Regions from separate parts of the Homo sapiens genome. Here region 1 is linked to region 2. The links are contacts of gene promoters, found by promoter capture Hi-C in human tissues and cell types (Jung and others, 2019). All regions are on one chromosome and are shown on one strand. Each heading gives the region's core, a stretch centred on a gene start or on the middle of the fragment in contact. The rest is flanking DNA. Distances are from core to core; before and after follow the strand shown.

Region 1 (3,668 bases), core at 948-3,447, 240 kb after region 2:
TTCCAGCTGGATTTTTCCTTAGTGATTTTGGGGGCCCAAGATATTTTCCTTTCACGCCTTCAACTGGAAAGTCCACTCCAGGGCCATGGTGACTGTCTTGTTTACCCCTATACCCAGACAGGGCTCAAGTGTGTGGTCAGTGTTCGTGAACAAGAAAGTGACTCTAGCCTGTGACATGCTCCTCGCTGACCACCCCCCCCCCCACCCCACGTAAAAAGAGTTCAAGGAGGTCCCATTTGCAAAGTACTGGGTACCTAGTAAGTCTGTAATATTATAAATTGTGCTTACCACCCTCTTTCCATGATATAGTCCCATTCCCCCATGTTTTAGAGAACATTCAGATTAACCTCCGAAAGATTAAATGATGGTAAGGATATAGTGCAGAGATGTGAACTCCTGTGTCAGGGAGGAAAAACTTTACCCTCATGTTCATGGTTGGAGGCCTGCAAATTAAACTGACCAAAGAAAGATTCACAGGAGAAAAGACTTTTAAACATTCATGTACACCAGAGTTCACAGAAAAATGTGACTCAAGGTTAAGTGGTTAGGATCTGGGGCTTGTATACCATCTTCATGAAGCAGGGGACTCTTAGGAAGGATGAATGGGCCCAGAGGAGCACAGGTGGGATTTATGTTAGTCTTGTGACAACAGCTGTTTAGGTGATTGCTTATCCTGGTGAGGGACTGGTGAGAGGAGACAATCTTCCCTAGTGCAAAACTCCCTAAAAAGCCCCAGGGAGGGGATTTGTGACAGTTGAATTATTTTGAGAGATTCTGTTTTTAAGCAGATAAGTAGAGTTCAGAGGAAAAAAAAAAAAAGGAAAAGTCAGTCTGGATATCAGTTCGTCTACCTAATTTTGCCACGAATCAAGGAAATCACCCTGTACTTTCCTTCTCCGTGGCCAGGGGACATTGAAATTATTTGGTTCTGGCAGGGCATGGTGGCTCTCGCCTGTAATCCCAGCACTTGGGGAAGCCGAGGTTGGCGGATGGCTTGAGCCCAGGAGTTGGAGACCAGCCTGAGCAGCATAGTGAGACTGTCTTCTACAAATAATTTCAAAATTATAGGAGGCCAGGTGTGGTGGCTCACACCTGTAATCCCAGCACTTTGGGAGGCTAAGGTGGGCGGATCACAAGGTCAGGAGTTTGAGACCAGCCTGGCCAATATGGTGAAACCCCGTCTCTACTAAAAATACAAAAATTAGCTGGACGTGGTGGCACGCACCTGAAGTCCCAGCTACTCGGGAGACTGAGGCAGGAGAATCGCTTGAACCCGGGAGGCGGAGGTTGCAGTGAGCCGAGATCGTGTCACTGCACTCCAGCCTGGGCAACAGAGTGAGACTTTATCTCAAAAAGATAAAACAACAAAAAAATTATGGGAGGCTGAGGCGGGTGGATCACCTGAGGTCAGGAGTTCGAGACCAGCCTGGCTAACATAGTGAAAGCCCATCTCTACCTGGGCAACACAGCGAGACTCCATCTCAAAAAATAAATAAATAAATAAATTAGCTGGGTGTGGTGGCCCGCACCTGTGGTCCCAGCTACTCAGGAGGCTGAAGTGAGAAAAATCACTTAAGCCCAGGAAGTTGAGGCTGCAGTGAGCCCTGGTGGCGCCACTGCACTCCAACCTAGGCAACAGAGTGAGACCCTTTCTCAAAAAAAATAAAAAAGAAAAATTATTTGGTTCTCAGGAGAGAAATAGGCTGCGTTCTCCTTCTCCAGCCCCGGGCTTTTCTTTGCTGTTCACCTTGCTGACTCCCCATGAATGCTTGTATCCGGCCACCAGGGTGGCATTTTGCAGAAAAGCAGTAATTTGCATATCACCTAAAAGAGTTCACACATCCCCCATGGGGTGTAATATACCATCAAGGATCACTTAAGTACTGGAGAGAAGCAGCTGATCAATGAAGAGCTTTAATGACTTGAGAGTCTGGGGCAGGGGAGAATCTAATTTATTCAGCCAACCACCGTGGACCCACAGGGGAAAGAACAAAGAGCCACAAACAAAAACTCACTTCCACTTCAGGACCACTTAGCCCACGCCAGGCTCCGGGCTCCGGGGTCCAGGCTCCAGGCACCAGGCTCTGGGTATTTAATCCTCAGAACAGTTTCTGAGACTGGCATCCTTATCTCCACTTTAAAGACAGGGATGGAGGCTCAGGGACGATCACTTGCCAAGGTCACACAGCTATTGAGCGCTGGGTAGGAACGAAAAGAAAGAGTCTCCTTCGTGTAGTTTCAAACTAATGAAAAATGGAAAAAAATTCAAAAGTATTTTCAGTAAACAAAAAATCTATTATATATTTCTATTCTATGTTATGCTAGTTAATGAAGACATAGATGAAAAGGAGAGAGGGGGAGAGAGATTGAGAAAGTCCAAGAAAACAGGAAAGAGAAATGAGATACAGGAGTCCGTAGACCAGGTCAGAAGATCCCCACCCACAACGGTGGATGGCAGAATAAACCGCAACCTCCTCACACACCGAGGGGCTTGGGGGATTCCCGGTGACGTAAAGGTGCCCTCCTTGACTTTCTTGCAACAACAGCAAAGGCTTCTCCACAGTGGCGTTCTAAAGGTTTCCCACGCGCTGACGGCTGAGTTGGTTTTCAAGCTTTACTTGGAGCTTGCTGACACTATCACAGATGCCTGAAAGTCCCTTTGAGAAAGGAGCCATGCTGGCTGGTTTTAGCCCACAGTCTCTGAACACAATTTGGTATTGACTTTTTATTTATTTATTTAAAAACAGAGACGGGGTCTCACTATGTTGCCCAGGCTGGTCTCAAACTCCTGGGCTCCAGCGATCCTCTCACCTCCGCCTCCCAAAGTGTTAAAATTACAGGTGTGAGCCACTGCTCCCAGCCAGTATAAATGTTTGTGTCAGTTTTCAGCCCCCTGTTCCATGCCCCCCCATACCATGCGCACGCACACACACACGGACTTAGATTCTCCCCATTTGAGCAGCTTTCCTCCAGCTGTTTGGGCGAGTGTGCAGTGCTGCCATATAAATGTGCTCAATAAAGCCCATGGTGATGACTCATCTCGGCACTATCTGAGCTCCACTTTCCCCATCCAGAGTCCCGAGTTTCTGCATTAAACGTGGTCGTCATAACCCAGTTCTGTCCGGCAGGAAGCCCTTGCTACAGACCTGGGTCCAGTGTGTCTCCTCTGGACAGTTGGGAGGTGGCAGCCCTATGGTTCGTGTGGGTTCTTCCCACAGGTAACTGAAACAGAGGGCCAGAGGGATGGGACCCCAGCATAGAATATGAATGTATAGGCCAGGTGTGGTGGCTCACGCCTGTAATCCCAGCACTTTGGGAGCAGAGGCGGGCAGATGGCTTGAGGTCAGGAGTTTGAGACCAGCTTGGGCAACATGGCGAAACCCTGTCTCTACTAAAAATACAAAAATATTAGCCAGTCATGGTGGTGCATGCCTGTAGTCTGGGCTACTCAGGAGGCTGAGGCAGGAGGATCGCTTGAACCTGGGAGGCGGAAGTTGCAGTGAGCCAAGATCATGCCACTGCATTCCAGTGTGGCCGACAGAGCCAGGCTCTGTCTCAAAAAAAAAGAAACAGCTGACATGTATATATACATTCATCTCTGTCTCCAAAAAAAAAAAAAAAAAAGAATGTATATGTCATCTGTTTCTTTTTTTTTTTTTGAGACAGAG
Region 2 (3,548 bases), core at 306-2,805:
GGAAGAGGGGAGTACCTTCCCCTACCTTCTAAATTCTGGCTTCTGTGGAGGGTAGGCCACCTCCCCAGATGACCCACACCAGAGGTGGCCATGCCTTCTAGGGAACCCCATCTCCACCACTGAGGAAGAGGCTTCCCCTTTGGCCTAAAATGGCAACCAGATATAAATGCCACCCCCTAAGCCTACTCAATCAGAAGAACCCCCAATCAGAAGAGAGACACCTAATCAGAAGGACCATTTCATTCCTTAGTGTAGATATGGCTTATTGCCAGGATTTGTGGCAGATGTAGGCACCCAGGCATGAGATGTGATTTACAGGCCTGGCAGAGACCTCTGCCCTCCAACATCTCCTTAGCCAGCCTGCCACGATGCCCAAATTTCCGGCCACCATTCATCACTCTTCTGCACAAAGGCACGGTCAGCATGTCCTTGTTCAATGCAAATTTGTTACCTAGCCTGTGTAACACATTATATCTGCTAACACCAATTTATCACCCATTTTCACATTAGCAGAGAGCAAGGCAGTGAGATAATGGAACTCAGCACCGGTAAATTTTGATGAAGAAGGAGCAGCAAAGCAGAGAGCGTGAGTCATGGCCAGTGAGTAATGGCCCAGGAAGGGGGCCGGGAGGTGGGCAGGGCAGGCAGCAAGGGGCCTGGGTATGGGGGATTGGAGGGGACCAGGCCCAGCTGGAGGAAAATAAAGTCTCCTCCTCGCATAAGCCAGGCTGCAGCATCGTGGCCTGAGCTGGGAAGACCCTCAGAGTCATTTGACACATGACTGAGGCTTTGGGCACTTCCCAGGGTGGGGTGGTCAGATATGACCTCGGGAAGTGCTTTTGAAGCCGGAGAGCTTTCTTCAGGCTGGCTCTGCGAGCTCCCAGGAGTCTCTGTCTCTGCAACTGCAAACACATCTCCAGAGCCAGGAAGTACGAGGAGGGGGAGGGGAGGACGCCTAGATGCTAAGAGACGACATGAGATCCTACATGCTTTAGGGTTGCAAGGGACCTTGGTGAGCTTCTGGTCACTATCATTTCATAATGGAGACTCTGAGACGTGCACACTTGATCGCCCACTGGCTAGTGGAGGATCTGGGGCTACAACTCAGTACGCCCCTGCGCCTGGCTCTGTGAGCGGGCCCCAGCACCACAGGCCGAGTTTATACTCAGATCAGTAAGCAAAGAGGAGCCACGGGAGTTTCTGACCAGGGAGGGGCAGAAGATAGGCATGTGTTGCCAAGCGAAATCGTGGGAAGCGGCTGATGAGGAAGCCCACGGAGGCACCTGGCAGAAGAGAAGGGTCTCCGCTGGGTGCGCATCTCTTCTGTGCTCTGCGGGAGCCAAAGCAGCTTTCGGCCCTCGGGGCTGGTGGCGCCCTGGGAAGCTGCTTGGCTCAGGGGAAGGAGCAGGGACCCCCGCCCGCCCGTCCTCGAAGCTGGTCCTCGGCGTCCCAGCCCCGCACGGCCCCGGGCAGGGCGCACAGCGGGGCTGCGGCCACGAGGTGGCGCCGGCGCGCCTTGGAAGCGCAGCTGCAGCTCCCGGGCCGCCCCAGCGCCGCTCGGCCGCCTCCTCCGAGGAACAATGCGGCGCCTCCGGGCGTAGCGTCGCGCGGGGCCGGACGCCGGACACCAGAGCGCGGGCGGCGGAGCCAGCGGGCGAGAGAGCGCGCGGCGGGCGCGGGTTGCCCTCGTCGAGAGCCATGGGCGCGGCGCGGCGCGGGGCTGAGGATCGGCGCGGCCCGGAGGCGCTGGGGACCGGGGCGCGGGCCCGGGGCCGCCTTTAGCCGGCACCGAGGGCGCGGGGCCGGGGATGAGGGCGCCCGCCGCGGGGAGCCCGTCTGCGCGCCGCGGCACCTTCCCGCCCAGCGAGCGAGCCCGAGCAGGCAGACGCGCGGCCGGCGGTCTGGGGGCGCGCCGCCTCCCGGTCCCCAAAATGTGAAGCGGGGAGGGCGGAGACGCAGAGACGGCCCGGCCGGGCGCCCTCGCCGCCCTCCGGCAGCCGCGCCGCTCCCTCCGCTGCACGCCCAGGCCTGAGCAGCGAGGCCACCGGGCCGCGCGCTCCCAGCTTCGCTCGGACGCGGCTTCGGCCCGCAGAGGGTTCGTGGCCCGGACGCGGCGAGAGCTGGGCCCAGGACGGTGCGTCCGGCCTCGCCCGCGGCTGCTCGCACCAACAAGTTTGAACAATGATCACCGTCAACCCCGATGGGAAGATAATGGTCAGAAGATGCCTGGTCACCCTGAGACCCTTTCGGTAAAGTTCCCTCCTGGTTGGTTTTTTCCCCAGGGGGGCGCCGGGTGGAGGTGGGCGAGGTCGGTTCCTGCGAACGTTCAAGTCCTGGTGGCAGAGGGGGCGGTTCACACTTCAACCCCTGGTGATGACCAGTGGGGCTGGGCTGGGGGAACGGATGGCGTTGGGGTTCGGGGTGCGGATGGGGAGGGTTGTGTTATTCGGGGACCTGTCCCGAGTTGGGCAGGGTTGGAGAGGACTCGGGGTGCAGAGGTAAGAATGGGGGCAGAAAACCCCCAGGTCGTGGTCCTGGGCCCAGAAAGTTGCCCCAGCCTGCGCGCCCCTTCCCAGCCCCTCAGGGTCCTTCCTCACCCCGCGGACGGTCCCATCCGGGTGGCAAAGTTAGTGTGCGGCGCCTTGGAGCTCCCCCTCCGGTCCCTCCCGTCCCGCCCGTCTGCCCCTAGGTCGGCTACCCCCCAACCCCTCCGCCTGTGCCACCCTCTCCCCAGCCTTTGGTGGCACTGCTCTCCTCCCCGCGGGGCTCGGGCCTGGCTCCGACGAGAGGGTCCCGAGATTAGAGCGAGGACTCGCTCATCCCAGGATTCGCCCCCGATCGCAGGCGTCGGAGAGGCGGGGGCAGGGGCGGCGCTGCAGGGCTACGGGGCGGCTGGAGCCGAGGCTGCGGCGGAGCGTGGTGGGCGGGCGGTGGCGAAGGCGACACGCTTCGGGCGGCCAACACCTGGGGGCCCAGGCCAGGCAGGGCTGGGGCCGCGCGGGACTCACTGGACCCAGCCAGGGGCCCCCAGGGCCCAGCGGTGCCGGGGCAGCCCCCTCTCCTCCCAGGCATCCGCGGAACCGGCCCGCAGCGGGGTGGGGAGGGGGCGCTGCCCAGTGGACGCCCGGCGGGGCCCGAGTGTCACCCCGTGGGTAGCTGGGCAGCGAGGAAGCTGGGGGAGTGACCGCCCCGGCGCGGGGGCCGGACTCGGGACGTGGCCACAGGTGGGCTCCGGGCGCGGGAAGGAGCCCGAGAAGGCGGAGCTTGCAGGGGCCCTGAACTCTTGCCCTCCAGGTCTCGGCCCAGCCCCACTGTGGTCCCCCTGCCGGCTCCAGACGGGGATGGGGGCGGGGAGACGGTGGCTCACCTGGAGCCCGCCTCCCAGCACACCGGGCCTGTCTGCTGGGCCGAGGAGGCAACCCCAGGGGACGGCAGGGGTCAGGCTGGACCTCTGCGGTCCGGGGGTCCGGGAGGCCCGGAGAGCTGGTGCAGGCCGTGGGTGGTGATGGGGGCGTCGGGAGCCCATGGGAAGCAGGGCGGGAAGCAGG

What was found. The method cuts DNA at HindIII sites, captures the fragments that hold promoters and counts their contacts. A contact is called where the count stands out against the background at its distance.
Region 1: a contact is called between a fragment that was not itself captured here and the fragment with the promoter of MGAT5B in region 2, in 9 of the 25 tissues and cell types used here (heart left ventricle, liver, lymphoblastoid cells and 6 more).

Annotation. Positions count from the first base shown.
Region 1 is chr17:77,105,182-77,108,849 of GRCh38, forward strand. It overlaps a transcript of SEC14L1 not described here. Among named protein-coding and RNA genes, the nearest start is that of MIR6516, 18 kb to the left of the region's middle. RefSeq lists enhancers at 1,471-1,520, 1,583-2,247, 2,361-2,690. The HindIII fragment of the contact is 6,923 bases long and covers 1-3,668 here.
Region 2 is chr17:76,866,849-76,870,396 of GRCh38, forward strand. MGAT5B (alpha-1,6-mannosylglycoprotein 6-beta-N-acetylglucosaminyltransferase B) reads left to right here and starts at 1,556. Exons shown (of 18, transcript NM_001199172.2): 1 at 1,556-2,249. The coding sequence starts at 2,182. RefSeq lists an enhancer at 759-1,053 and a silencer at 1,391-1,700. The HindIII fragment of the contact is 29,656 bases long and covers 1-3,548 here.